Regions from separate parts of the Homo sapiens genome. Here all the other regions are linked to region 1. The links are contacts of gene promoters, found by promoter capture Hi-C in human tissues and cell types (Jung and others, 2019). All regions are on one chromosome and are shown on one strand. Each heading gives the region's core, a stretch centred on a gene start or on the middle of the fragment in contact. The rest is flanking DNA. Distances are from core to core; before and after follow the strand shown.

Region 1 (2,528 bases), core at 9-2,508:
ATGCCTGTAATCCTAGCACTCTAGGAGGCCCGGGTGGGTGGATTGCTTGAGCTCAGGAGTTCCAGATCAGCCTGGGCAACATAGTCAAACTCGTCTCTACTAAAAATACAAAGTATTAGCCAGGCATGGTGGCGCACGCCAATAGTGCCAGCCACTTAGGAGGCTGAGGTGGGAGAATCACCTGAGCCCAGGAGATCGAGACTGCAGAGATTGTGCCACTGCACTCCAGCCTAGGCAACCAGAGTGAGACCCTGTCTCAAAACAACAACAACAACAACAAAACACAGATCATTTTCATAGAGATTTGGATTCAATAGGTCCATTCTGGAATTTGTATTTTCAACACGTTTGACAAATGCTGGCTAAGTAGTTCACTACAATGGCTCTTGAGTTGAAGAGACACTAATTTGGTTACTCGCAGCTTTACTACCTCTCTAGATGTGTGTCACCTTGTGCAAGTTCGTTCATCTCTCTGAGCGTCAGTTTCCCCAAATGACGGATGCAGCTAATAACAGCACCACCTCCTAGGGCTGTAGTGGGGATTAAGTGAGCAGCGTGCAAAGTGCTTAGCGCCCTGCCTGGTGCATAGCAAGCAAAGATAATAACAGAAAGATGGTGGCAGCCACTGGGAAGTTCAGGCTGAGACAGTCTTCCAAGACGTCCACCTTTTCATCTTTTTTTTTTTTTTTTTTGTATTGGCAAGGTCTCTCGCCGTGTTGCCCAGGCTGGTCTCCAACACCTGGACTCAAGCGATCCTCCCTCCTTGGCCTCCCAAAGAGCTGGGGTTACAGGCGTAAGCCACCCCAGTGGCTCCTTCTGACTTTATGATAGAGTTGTCAGATAAAAAAAAATCAGGACGCTTCCATTCAAACCTGCAAAAAGAGAAAAATTTAAAAAAATTAGGACGCCCAGTTCAATTGGAATTTCAGATAATGAAAAAAAAATTTAACGTAAGTAGCTCCCAAATACTGCATAGGACATATTTATACCAAGTCAGTCATTCTTTAAAAAAAAAAATCTGAAATTCCAATTTAACCGGGAGTCCTGCATTTTTACTTGTTAAATCTAGTAACTCTGCCTTTAGGGAAGGACTGACCCCAAAGCCTTATCCCCGCCCACGCGTGCCCTAGACAGTCTCCACTCGCCAGGCGCGCAGGTCGATCCCAGAGGGGCCGCTGGCGCCTCCGCTCCGCCCAGGCAGCACTAGTGGCGCCCCGAGCCACCGGGCCCCTCCCCGTCCCGCCCCAGTCCCGCCCCGAGATCAAAGGGCGTCGCCCAAAGCGGGACAGGTCCAGCGGTTGTTCTGTGTGAAGTCGCGCGGCTTCCACCCACGCAGTGTTCTAAGTGAAGGCCAGAAACTCGCTCGCCATGTCGGCTGCAGAGGCGGGGGGTGTTTTCCACAGAGCCAGGGGCAGGACCCTGGCCGCGTTTCCCGCAGGTACTGCCCGCCCCTCACCCGGGGAGGGGACTCTGGGGCTGCGGAACCTTCCGCCGGGGGAACCTTTTGTTCAGGTGTGCGCTCCGCCAGTCGGACACCATCCGGGGCTGCACCGGGGCCTGGGAGCCGCCATAGCTGCATCAAAGCCTGCTCTTAGGGATTCCAGGGGCGCAGTTGAGAGGCGAGGCCGAGAGAGCGATCTGGTCTAGGAGCCTCCTTGGCCTTGACCTAACTTCCCCCAGAGAAGGGAAGTAAGAGGAGGGTAGCAAAGCATAGTTAATGACAGCTTGGACTCTGCAGCGAGACCTGGTTTCCAAGCTGTGCATTAGCATCTTGGCCTCAGCTTCCACATCTGTGAAACGGGAATACTTGTGGGTGTTACTGGATAAGCGTTCGGTGCATGTTAGAGGGTGTCGGTTTTATTAAGGTTGTTCACCGTTATGTATTCTGTACTCCATAATGACGTTTATTTAAGTCATTCACCGAAATGGTAACACTGCCCCATCAGAGCAGTAGAGAGGGAGGGCATTCGAGAGTCGTAGTGAAGTGCTTGGATTTTGGATTTAGATTATCTGCTTTGCCTTAAAAATGGGTTTGATAATACCTGCCTCATAGGGTTGTTGGAAGCGTAAACAGATCAAAAGTATTTTTGTAACCCGGTGTTGGACGCATGCTAGGTGCTAAGTAAAGAGGGAGGTTTGTTTCTGGTTTGTTGATTCCCCTCTGTGGCTTTTTGCTGCCTGCAGCCAGATCGCCTCCCAGGCTCTCACCAGCTTTATACCCCCAGGGAAGTCACCCTAAATGCCCTATATGATCAGGCTTGTGTCCACTTCCTTCAGGGTTGTCATTCTCTCTCTTGCCCAGTTCTGCAACAGGTTTTGTTGTTGCCCTTGTTTGAACTGCATTTAAAAGGGCCAAGGCCGTTCTTTCCCTGAGGGTCTTGGCGCTTGCTGTTTTCTGCTTCTTTAGCAGGGTTGGTGAGCCTGGCTCTCTCAACCGTCACACCTCATTTTAAAGTTCATTCACTTCCTCAGAGACTTTACCTGCTACCTTATCTAAAGTAGGTTTCTCCGGTAATTCTATGGTAAAA
Region 2 (2,528 bases), core at 20-2,519, 1.6 Mb before region 1:
AAAACCCCCAGGCAACCTGGATTTCTCTCCGAAGCAGAATTATATAAGAAGCAAAGGAAACAGGAAATTAGCACCTGTTGAGAGCCTACTACATGCTAGACGCTGTAGTAGGAGCCATTTCTCTCCTTATTTCATTTAATTTTCACCGTAGCCCTGAGGTGGGAATCATCATCCTTATTTGATGAAGCAGATGCCTGGGCTCAGCGAGGCTAAGTGTGCGGGGCCATGCTGCGCTTAAGAAGCACAGCCGAAAGGCAGACCCAGGTCTGCCTGAGCTGAATCCCATGTCCTCTCCACCCCGCAGATGTGCCTCACTCAGCCCTTCATGCACACATGCCACACAGGGCCACAGCAAGAGGCCAGAAGGGCATCTTGTCAGTCAGCACATGGAAAAGGCCATTCCCTGCTGCAGGGGGCGGTCCAGCAAGGCAGCAGTCACAGTGACAGTAATCATAGCCACTGCTTATTGAGTGCTTATTACTGGAGCCAGGACAGTGCTTAATGTGTAACTGAAATTCTTTCATTTAAATCCTTGAGACAGTCATCATTATCCATTTTACAGTTAAGAAAACGGAGGCCCAAAGGGTTATGTGAGTTGCCCAAAGTCCCAGAGCCATTAAGTCTGTCCTACAAGAAAGCTGGTGAGGCCAGGCTCGGTGGCTCACGCCTGTAATCCGAGCACTTTGGGAGGCCAAGACGGGTGGATCACTTGAGGTCAGGAGTTCAAGACCAGCATGGCCAACATGGCAAAACCACGTCTCTACTAAAAATACAAAAAATTAGCCAGGTGTGGTGGCGCATGCCGGTAGTCCCAGCTACTAAGGAGACTGAAGTAGGGGGACTGCCTCAGCCCAGGGAGGTCAAGGCTACAGTGAGCCAAGATTGCGCCACTGCACTCCATCCTGGGCAACAGAGTGACACCCTGTCTTACATACACACACACAAAAGAAAGTGAGTGCTTTTAACCAAGGTTATGTGTTGAGAGACACTGACCCAGACACAATTATAATCATTCTCCTTTGTCTCACATCGTGACAGTTGTCACGGTTAGCAGAACTAACAATCAAATCAAAGGAAAGTAGTAGTCAAGTGGTGGAACTTGATTCATACCCAAGCTATGAATGCACTGTTTTAATTAATCCCCTTTTGCATGTGGCCCGATCTGACTGTGGGGAGTTTTCTGAATCTCATGGATATTAATGAAATCAGACAAGTAGCAAAAATGTCACATATGCTTTTTGTACATTATGCTGAAGCTGAATTTCAACAGAAAACTTAAACTTGTGTTTGAAGCCTGGATTGGATGTTTTAGCTGTCTCTTGACTCTGGGTGTCTCTCTTTACTTACCTCCTGTCCTTTCCCTGACTTAACTATTGGAGGGGGCCAGGCATGGTAGCTCACAACTATAATCCCACCACTCTGGGAAGCTGAAGCAGGAGGATGACCTGAGCCCGGGAGTTTGAGACCAGCCTGGGCAATATAGTGACACCTTTTCTCTACAAAAAAAAAAAAAAAAAAAAAAAAATTTAAATATTAGCTGCACGGGCATGTAGTCCCAGGTACTCAGGAGGCTGAATCGGGAGGATCGCTTGAGCCCAGGAGTTTTGACTGCAGTGAGCTATGATCGCATCAGTGCACTCCAACCTGGGGGACACAGTGAGACCTTGTCTCAAGAAAAGAAAGAAGAAAAAGTATTGGAGAAGTTTTAAATCTGTAGCATCCTTAGTCTTCAAATTTCATACCTTTATTACCACTGTCATGTTTCGTGTGCTCAACAAATGTTAAAATAATGAATGTCAGCATGATTTCTAGAGATCGTACTGAGCAGGATTTAGAGGGGCAGGGGGGTTTCCCCACTTGTATTCCTGTCCTTCATAGCTGTCTCTTCTGGATTTTTTTAGTTTATTACTCCTCAGGGACAAGCTTTTCGTTTTTCCCCTCTATATCAGCATAATCTGAAAAATATTAAAATTAAAATAACTAATAATAGACTGCATTAATAGATTAGTTCCTTTTATAGCTTTCATCATTTTAAGTGAAAACTTTCTATAAGTTATTTAGGGTTTTGAATTTATAATACTGTAATTAAAATAAGGGTTTTTTTCCTCCCATTGACAGTAAAGCTGTCACTGCCACAAGATTTGAGCTAAAAAAAAAATTGTAGATTTTGTACTTCTTTGTCAGTGCTGCCAAAAAAAAAAGAGAAAGAGACATCTTGACAACTTTTAATTGAATCAGAGAACTTGAGTGAATCGAGCTTTCTTCTGGAGCACCATTCATCGAGCAAGACCCCTGACGGTGCCAGGTGGAAACTTAATGGATCCTTTCCACCTGGTTTGTTTTCAGTGTTTAATCCTATTAGTATCAGCAGGATATAGGTCAGGATATCAGGTGCAGAACCTGTGGAATCAGCCAATTTGGCTTGCTCATTTACTTTAATAAGGTCCCATAATGAGTGAGAGTACAAAGTTCAAGCCCTGTTGAGGGTCTGCATTAAACTCTCAGAAGTATTTAGAGTGTGCCAGGAG
Region 3 (2,528 bases), core at 12-2,511, 1.1 Mb before region 1:
CCACCTGATATATCTAGGGGATCATCAGACTTGTCCGACCAAGCTGTGTCCCCTCTCAACACCCCTCAGACCCATGTGTAGCCCCATTCCATCTTTCTCAGTGTTCTCCATTGTCCTTAACTGTAGTTAACCTTTGCCAACATCCTCAGCGTCAAGCTCCAATCCCTTTCTGACCCTATGGCCCTCTTAACACAGCCTTGGTGAATGTCCTATTTCCTGGTCCCTCCTTTTCCCTATTGGGGTTTTTCCAGCGCCTCAGCATCTCCTTTCATGTCTCCCCATCACCCTCAGAGATCTTCCATCCTCATCACTGTTCCCTTTCAGGGACCTTCCTTCTGCCCCCAGAAACTCCCTTAATGGCCAACTTCAGGACTCTCCCGTTATTCCTATCCAGATCCTCCTTCCGACATCTCCCCCTCCCCTGCAGCGACCTCCGATCCTCTCCTACCACTCAGAGCCCCTTCACCTTTCAGTGCCCTTGCACCCATGTCAGGGACCTGCATCCTTCTGGGGACCCCTCCCATCCCTCTTAGTGTTGTCAGGGAATTGCATCCTTCTCGGGACCCCTTCCATCATTCTCACTGTGCCTGCACAGTGTCAGGGACCCGCATCCCCTGGGGACCCCTCCCATTTCTCTTAGTGTTCTTGAACTCTGGTCAAAGACTTGCATCCTTCTTGGGACCCCTCCCTTCCCTCTCAGAGTCCCCGCACAGTGTCAGGGACTGGCATTCCTCTTAGTGTTCTTCAACTCCTGCCAGGGACCTGCAGCCTTCTCGGGGCCCCTCCAATTCTTATCAGTGTCCCCGCACGGTGTGAGCGACCGGTATCCTCCTAGCGACCCCTTACATACGTCTGTGTTCCCGCAGTGTGAGGGACCTGCATCCCCCTGGGGACCCCTGCCATCCTTCTCTGTGTCATCGCGTAGTGTCAGGGGCCTGAATCCCCCTCAGAGCCCCTCCATCCCTGTCAGAGGCCTCGCATCCGCTCAGGAGGCCCTCAACACTCTCGGAGTCCCCTCACTCCCGCGCCAGCGCGGCCGCACCTCCTCGGCCGGCTGCGTGTTGAGCACCAGCACCAGGCAGGCTGGGTGGCAGTGCAGCTGGAGAAAGTGGTAGAGGAGCCGGTCCGCGCCGAGCCCGCGGGCGCACACTACTAGCCCGTCAGTGTCGAGCAGTTCCAGCACCAGCTGTCGCTCGTACTCCAGCAGCGGCGCCATGGCAATCCGTCGAGCCGGCTGCCCTGACTCCATGGAAGCTCTTCCGGGTCGCAGCCGAACGCAGCCGAAGGAAGCCGACTCCTAGTGGAGAGTAGGCCGAACTCAACCGAAGAGAGCCGAGTCCGAGAGGACGGCAGCCAGCCGAACGTAGCCGAGGAGAGCTGAGACTGAGATGATCGTGGGCCGAACGCAGCCGAAGAGGAGCCGAGGCCACGACAGGCGCGCTCTCAGAAAGCCGAAGAGAGCCGAGCCTGAGAAGGCAAGCGTTGGCCGAACTCAGCCGAAGAAGAGCCGAGTGGAGCCGAAGATTCATGGAGTCACCTGTAGGGGCTGGCGCCCCCTGTCGGTGTAGCTTGCAGATATCAGGCTCCATTCACGTCTCTTTTGAGTTTCCACATCCCCTGGCACCCTAGCCTCAAGCTGCCAAAAAGCAAGGGAAGGGGAAGTAAGCCTAAGGAGCTTAATCCCCCGACATCGACAGTTGAAAAAGTTACTGGTCAATATTCCAAATGCGCCAAGAGTTAGTAGCACCTGTTTCCTAGGGTGGTTTTTGGCCCTTCCTTTTGCGATTACTCCCCATCCTTCTTTTAATTTTTTTTTTCTTTCCCGAGACAGGATGTTGATATGTTGCCCAGGCTGGAGTGCAGTGGCTGTGGAATAAGCAGAATCATTTACTGACTTCAGACCTCTGTTTGCCTCCCAAAGACTTCAATACAATAAACTATTTTTAAAAATCCCTCCTTCCACTAGAGGGACACCTCCCGCAGTGTTTGTTCTATACCTAGAAATGCCTGATAGTTGAACTAGTAGAGGAATTGTTTTGTATAGAAACCCCCCACCTTTGTTATTAGAAAATAGAAAATACAAGTAAACAAAAATGAAAATCACTTGTTTCCATTACTTGGAAATAACCACTGTTAACATCACGAAATCTATTTTATTTAGTCCTTTTTTTTCTATCTATATACACATTCTCTCATCACACGGAGTTCTTTTACCGACACGAGATAATTAATATCCCTGATTTAAATCCCCAGCTTTGTCATTAACATTTGGCAAACCTCTGAACATGATGTTTCATATTCTTTTACAAAGTCCTTTTATATGGCTGATGAGATTTCCATTATGTGGGTGTACTTACCTAATTGCTTATTAGAGGACATTTAGTCTGTTTCTGCTTTTTCCCTTCCAGTAATATAAATAATATTTCACTAAACATCTTTGTATGTAAATTCAGCCGTGGCCTTCAGATACACGTCTAGAAATGAATAATCACTGGGATAAAGAGAAAAAAATTTGTAAGGCTTTTCAT
Region 4 (2,528 bases), core at 15-2,514, 1.1 Mb before region 1:
AGGTCAGGAGTTCGAGACCAGCCTGGCCAACATGATGAAACCCTGTCTCTACTAAAAATATGAAAATTAAGCCGGGCACAGTGACTCACGCCTGTAATCCCAGCACTTTGGGAGGCCGAGGTGGGCAGATCACGAGGTCAGGAGATCAAGACAATCCTGGCTAACACGGTGAAACCTCGTCTCTACTAAAAAAAATACAAAAAATTAGCTGCATGTGGTGGCATGCACCTGTAGTCCCAGCTACTCGGGAGGCTGAGGCAGGAGAATCACTTGAATCCCAGCTACTTGGGAGGCTGAGGTAGGGGAATCACTTGACCCCAGGAGATGGAGGTTGAAGTTAGCTGAGATCATGCTACTGCACTCCAGCTAGGACCACGGAGTGAGACTCTATCTCAAAAAAAAAAAAAAAAAAAAAAAAAGAGGCTGGGAGTGGTGGCTTACACCTGTAATCCCAGCACTTTGGGAGGCTGAGGCGGGCGGATCACGAGGTCAGGAGATCGAGACCATCCTGGCTAACGGGGTGAAACCCCATCTCTACTAAAAATACAAAAAATTAGCCAGGCGTGGTGGGGGGTGCCTGTAGTCCCAGCTACTCGGGAGGCTGAGGCGGGAGAATGGTGTGAACCCAGGAGGCGGAGCTTGCAGCGAACCGAGATCACGCCACTGCACTCCAGCCTGGGTGACAGAACGAGACTCTGTCTCAAAAAAAAAAAAAAAAAAAGAAAAAGAAAAAAAAAGAGAAAGAATAGCAGAGTAGAAAGACTGCAGAAACTTAATTTTTGTGATATACATCTACCTCTAGCCTTGGCTTGTCTACTTCTGGACTTCTTTCATATGTGAGAAAAATAAACCTCTAATTTGTTGAAGCCACTGTTATCTTTTTGGGATTTGTCACTAGCTGATAAATGTAATTCGTAACTGTTGTGGAGACATCTTGTGTTATTTAAAAGTGTGGAATGTTTATAGGCAAATAGTAACCATTACTCACTGTTGTAATTAATGTGAAAAACTGCAGTGTTTTTATTAAGAGGGAATTAAGCTTCAGCATTAAGCTAGTAATATCAATAAGAGGCATTTATAGTAGCTCTGAAGATAGCTGCAAGCTGTCATTACCCTAATAGGGTACAACACTCGCTGCCACAGCCGGGATCTTTTATCTTTTTTTTTTTTTTTGAGACAGCGTCTCGCTTTGTTATCCAGACTGTAGCGCAGTGGTGTGATTTTGGCTCCCTGCAACCTCCACCTCCTGGGTTCAAGTGATTCACCTGCCTCAGCCTACAGTAGCTGGGATTACAGGCGCTCACGTCACCACGCCTGGCTAATTTTTATATTTTTTAAGTAGAAACAGGGTTTCACGATGTTGCCCAGGCTGGTCTCGAACTCCTAGCCTCAAGTGATCCGCCCGACTTGGCCTCCCAAAGTGCTGGGGTTAGAGGCGTGAGCCAGCACTCCTGGCCCACAGCCAGGATCTTGGTAGCAGCTGTAGGATCAGTGCCACCTGATTCGGTGGTCGTTTGAGAGGCCACGCAAACTTAGGTGAGGGTAATAACACACATGCTGCATTTAATGCATAAAATAAGATGATTTATTTTAACAAAATGGTGCACATCAATGGGTGAACCCAGGCCATAGCAGCGCCTTGAGTAGGGATGCACAGCAAACTGACTCTGGGAATAAAAATGTGATGGGAGAACTTGTATGTATCCAAGCATTGTGATCTGCTTTATTCTCTTTTTTTTTTTTTTTTTTTTTTTTTTTTTTTTTTTTTTTTTGAGACGGAGTCTCATTTTGTTGCCCAGGCTGGAGTGCAGTGGCATGATATCGGCTCACTGCAACTTCTGCCTCCCAGATCAAGCAATTCTCATGCGTCAGCCTCCGGAGTGGCTGGGACTACAGCACCTGCCACCATGCCCAGCTAATTTTTGTATTTTTAGTAGAGGTGGGGTTTCACAGTCTCTACTAAAAATACAAAATTGTTGTATTTTTACAACAATTTTGGCCAGACTAGTCTCAAACTCCTGACCTCAAGTGATCCACCCACCTTGGCCTCCCAATGTGTTGGGATTACAGGCGTGAGCCACCCTGCCCAGTGTGGAATTTGCATTTCTAACAAGTTCTCCTAGGTGCTGGTGCTGCTGCTAACTCTGGTCTGGGGACCACATTTTGAGAACGATTGTATTAAGCCAAGTCCCATAGTGGAGTTATTTTTAGATGAAAAAGATCCATTTGAGCTGTTTACCCAGATCAAATTAATTAGGTACTTGTCAAATCTCCTCATTTCACTTTCTGAAGTGTAAAAATGAAATTAACCTCTGAAATGACTTTCCTTTTATTCCTCCCTCTCTCCCATGTTTTGAGCATTACTGAACCAGGCACAAAGGAGTGTAGTAAAAGGACATTTCTTACCCTGAGCCTGGAAAGGGCATGGCATTTGCAGCCTGGCAGAGTCTGATTTTCACCCCATTCCATCCCATCTGACTTCATGTGAGTATTTTGGTCTTAATGCCCTCATCTGAAACATGTTAACG
Region 5 (2,528 bases), core at 17-2,516, 1.1 Mb before region 1:
TCTGGGAGATATATACAGAGAAGTTTATAGCTAACAGCTTTCTTACAGCTACAAGGAAACTGGTTTTAAGATAATACTAATGCTTTGGCTGGCAGAGTAGCAAGATGGAAAGAACCTAGGTCCTTAACAATATCATCGAGTGGCTGAAAAAAACCAGCTCTGAATCCCGCCCAATCTCGGAAATCCCTAGACTTCCTGTTAAATGAGATATATTAAATTGTCTTTATTGTTCAAACTAGATAAAATTGATATTTTGGTTATTTGTAGTAATAGTTTTCCTTTTTAAAACAGACTTTAAAAGGAAACTGAAGTTTAGAGAAGTTAGCACCAACAGCAGCATCAACAACAACGATATTAAATGACAAAGCCAAGACTCCAACCCTTGATAGTCTGCAGGCTACACTCCATGCCCAAACCCAGTCCCACAGTGTTGCCTCCTCGTGAATACAATATAGAAAGTGTTTGGGAGTTTCTCAGGGGTTTGAGGAAGGGGGAGAGAAATAACTGACAAGTAGGGAAGATGTGGAAAATATTAAATAAACCCCATTATTCCCATAGAACTTGGAACAATAGACATGCCAGCAAAGAGAAAAAATGCTTGGTTCAAACTCTAGTAGAGAGATACAGTTATACTACAAACTTTGATAAACTTCATGGGACTTGAATTTTGATGTAAACTACAATTGATGCTTTTGTGTATTTTTGGAGGGACTACCCTACCCTTTTTAATCTTCCTTCCCTTCGTTTCTTGTTCTGTGATTAGGAGATGGGAAGAGATCATTTTCCTACTTAAAACCAAAAGAAAAAGCCCACATCCCTTTAGTCCAGAATAAAGGATAGGTTGACAAGTCATCACTACTTGATTTTACTTTTGTTGCTATCTCCTGGAGTGTGACTTATTGGACCTTTGCCTAAAGTTGGATTTGCTTGTCACTTAGATGTTGCAAAGTAGCTTCACGAAAGCTCTCTTAGCAAACTTGCTGATTGATGGAATGGATGATGCAGTTGAAACTGAAATCTGCTGAGAGACAAAGTAGAGAAAAATTTTGATTGTTAGAAAAATCAAGAAAGTAACTTCACTAGAAAAAGCAGAAGTTGTTTTCAAATAGTAGGCTCCACTGCATGCTATAGGACCTTACATTTTTATTTTGAAAAGGTTTAAGAATACAGAAAGCTTGAATAGGCATTTCTCCAAGGAAGATACATAAATGGCCAATAAGTAGATGAAAAGGTGTTCAATATCATCATTAAGGACATGCAACCCAAAACCACAGTGAAATATCCCTTCATACCTACTAGGATGGCTATAACAACAACAACAACAAAGAGAAGATAGTGTTAGCGAGGATGGGGAGAAATTGGAACCCTTATGAAGCGCTGGTTGGAATGTAGGACGGTTTAGATGCTATGGAAAGGAGTATAGTGGTTCCTCAAAAAATGAAACATAGAGTTACCATATGACCTAGCAATTCTGTTCCTAGGTATACAACAAAAAATTGGAAACACGGACTCCAATAGTTACTTCCATGGCAATGTTTATTGTAGCATTATTCACAATAGCCAAAAGGTGAAAACAACCCAAGAGTTCATCAACAGATGAATAAATAAACAAAATGTGGTACACACACACACACACACACACACACACACACACACGCTGGGGTATTATTCAGCCATAAAAAGAAAGAAAGTTCTGATACATGTTACAACATGGATTGACTTTGAAAGCATTATGCTAAGTGATATAGGCCAACAAAAAGGACAAATATTGTGTGATTCTACTTGTATGAAATATCTAGAATAGGGAAATTTATAGAGACAGAAGGTAGATTAGAAGTTACCAAAGGCCAAGGGAGAGGAGCATAAGGAGTTATTGCTTATTGCTCTCTCTTTAGGGTGGTGAAATTTTGGAAATAGACAGTGGTGATGGTTTTACAACACTGTGAATGTAATTAGTAAAATTTAAACAAAAAATACAAAAAGGAACAGAGAATAATATAGCAGTCACCCATGCAACCACTGGGTAGAATTGACAAATATTAACAATTTTATTTTATTTACTTCAGATGTTTCTTAAAAATAAAGCAAAACAGTGGCGGTGGTTTTACAACATTGTGAATGTAATTTGTAAAATTTAAAGACAAAATGCAAAAAGGAACAGAGAATAATATAGCAGCCACCCATGCAACCACTGGGTAGAATTGACAAATATTAACATTTTATTTTATTTACTTCAGATGTTTCTTAAAAATAAAGCAAAACATTGCTGATACAGTTTTTCCCATGTAGCAGATATGATTAGTATCCCATGCCACATCCCTTGGCCAATCTCTTTAGGCCTCTTGCAGCTATGGTGGATGGTTTCCAGGCACGCTGACTGCTTACGCCCTGGAGCACACGTTTCTCTGCCCCAGGGTTCCCTCTAGTGGCGAGAGAGCTTGCTTAGCCCGTCCACAGGGCAATCCCAAAGGACTGGAGGCGCAATGCCCCAAGGTCAATCCTCGATCAATGAGAGAAGGGAGTTGGAA

What was found. Contacts are between HindIII fragments. The study calls those that stand out against the background at their distance.
Region 2: a contact is called between a fragment that was not itself captured here and the fragment with the promoter of CPPED1 in region 1, in 1 of the 25 tissues and cell types used here (heart left ventricle).
Region 3: a contact is called between the fragment with the promoter of ERCC4 here and the fragment with the promoter of CPPED1 in region 1, in 1 of the 25 tissues and cell types used here (dorsolateral prefrontal cortex).
Region 4: a contact is called between a fragment that was not itself captured here and the fragment with the promoter of CPPED1 in region 1, in 2 of the 25 tissues and cell types used here (dorsolateral prefrontal cortex and lymphoblastoid cells).
Region 5: a fragment that was not itself captured here is called in contact with the fragment with the promoter of CPPED1 in region 1 in 3 of the 25 tissues and cell types used here (H1 embryonic stem cells, dorsolateral prefrontal cortex and mesendoderm cells).

What each region holds. Positions count from the first base shown.
Region 1 is chr16:12,802,617-12,805,144 of GRCh38, reverse strand. CPPED1 (calcineurin like phosphoesterase domain containing 1) reads left to right here and starts at 1,258. Exons shown (of 4, transcript NM_018340.3): 1 at 1,258-1,438. The coding sequence starts at 1,369. RefSeq lists a silencer at 1,177-1,226 and an enhancer at 1,307-1,676. The HindIII fragment of the contact is 16,943 bases long and covers 1-2,528 here.
Region 2 is chr16:14,443,981-14,446,508 of GRCh38, reverse strand. All of the region lies in intron 23 of PARN (poly(A)-specific ribonuclease), which reads left to right. Among named protein-coding and RNA genes, the nearest start is that of LINC03107, 17 kb to the right of the region's middle. RefSeq lists an enhancer at 376-876. The HindIII fragment of the contact is 4,437 bases long and covers 1-2,528 here.
Region 3 is chr16:13,918,887-13,921,414 of GRCh38, reverse strand. ERCC4 (ERCC excision repair 4, endonuclease catalytic subunit) reads right to left here and starts at 1,261. Exons shown (of 11, transcript NM_005236.3): 1 at 1,043-1,261. The coding sequence starts at 1,249. The region is part of intron 1 of LOC105371093 (a long non-coding RNA gene); the gene reads left to right. It overlaps LOC124903647 (a long non-coding RNA gene), which reads left to right and starts at 1,337. Exons shown (of 2, transcript XR_007065001.1): 1 at 1,337-1,736; 2 at 1,832-1,950. RefSeq lists enhancers at 808-1,017, 1,058-1,417, 1,628-1,677. The HindIII fragment of the contact is 8,609 bases long and covers 1-2,528 here.
Region 4 is chr16:13,898,351-13,900,878 of GRCh38, reverse strand. LOC105371093 (a long non-coding RNA gene) reads left to right here. Exons shown (of 4, transcript XR_007065000.1): 3 at 2,359-2,484. Among named protein-coding and RNA genes, the nearest start is that of ERCC4, 21 kb to the left of the region's middle. The HindIII fragment of the contact is 8,964 bases long and covers 1-2,528 here.
Region 5 is chr16:13,866,212-13,868,739 of GRCh38, reverse strand. No RefSeq gene overlaps it. Among named protein-coding and RNA genes, the nearest start is that of ERCC4, 53 kb to the left of the region's middle. RefSeq lists an enhancer at 2,354-2,528. The HindIII fragment of the contact is 6,401 bases long and covers 1-2,528 here.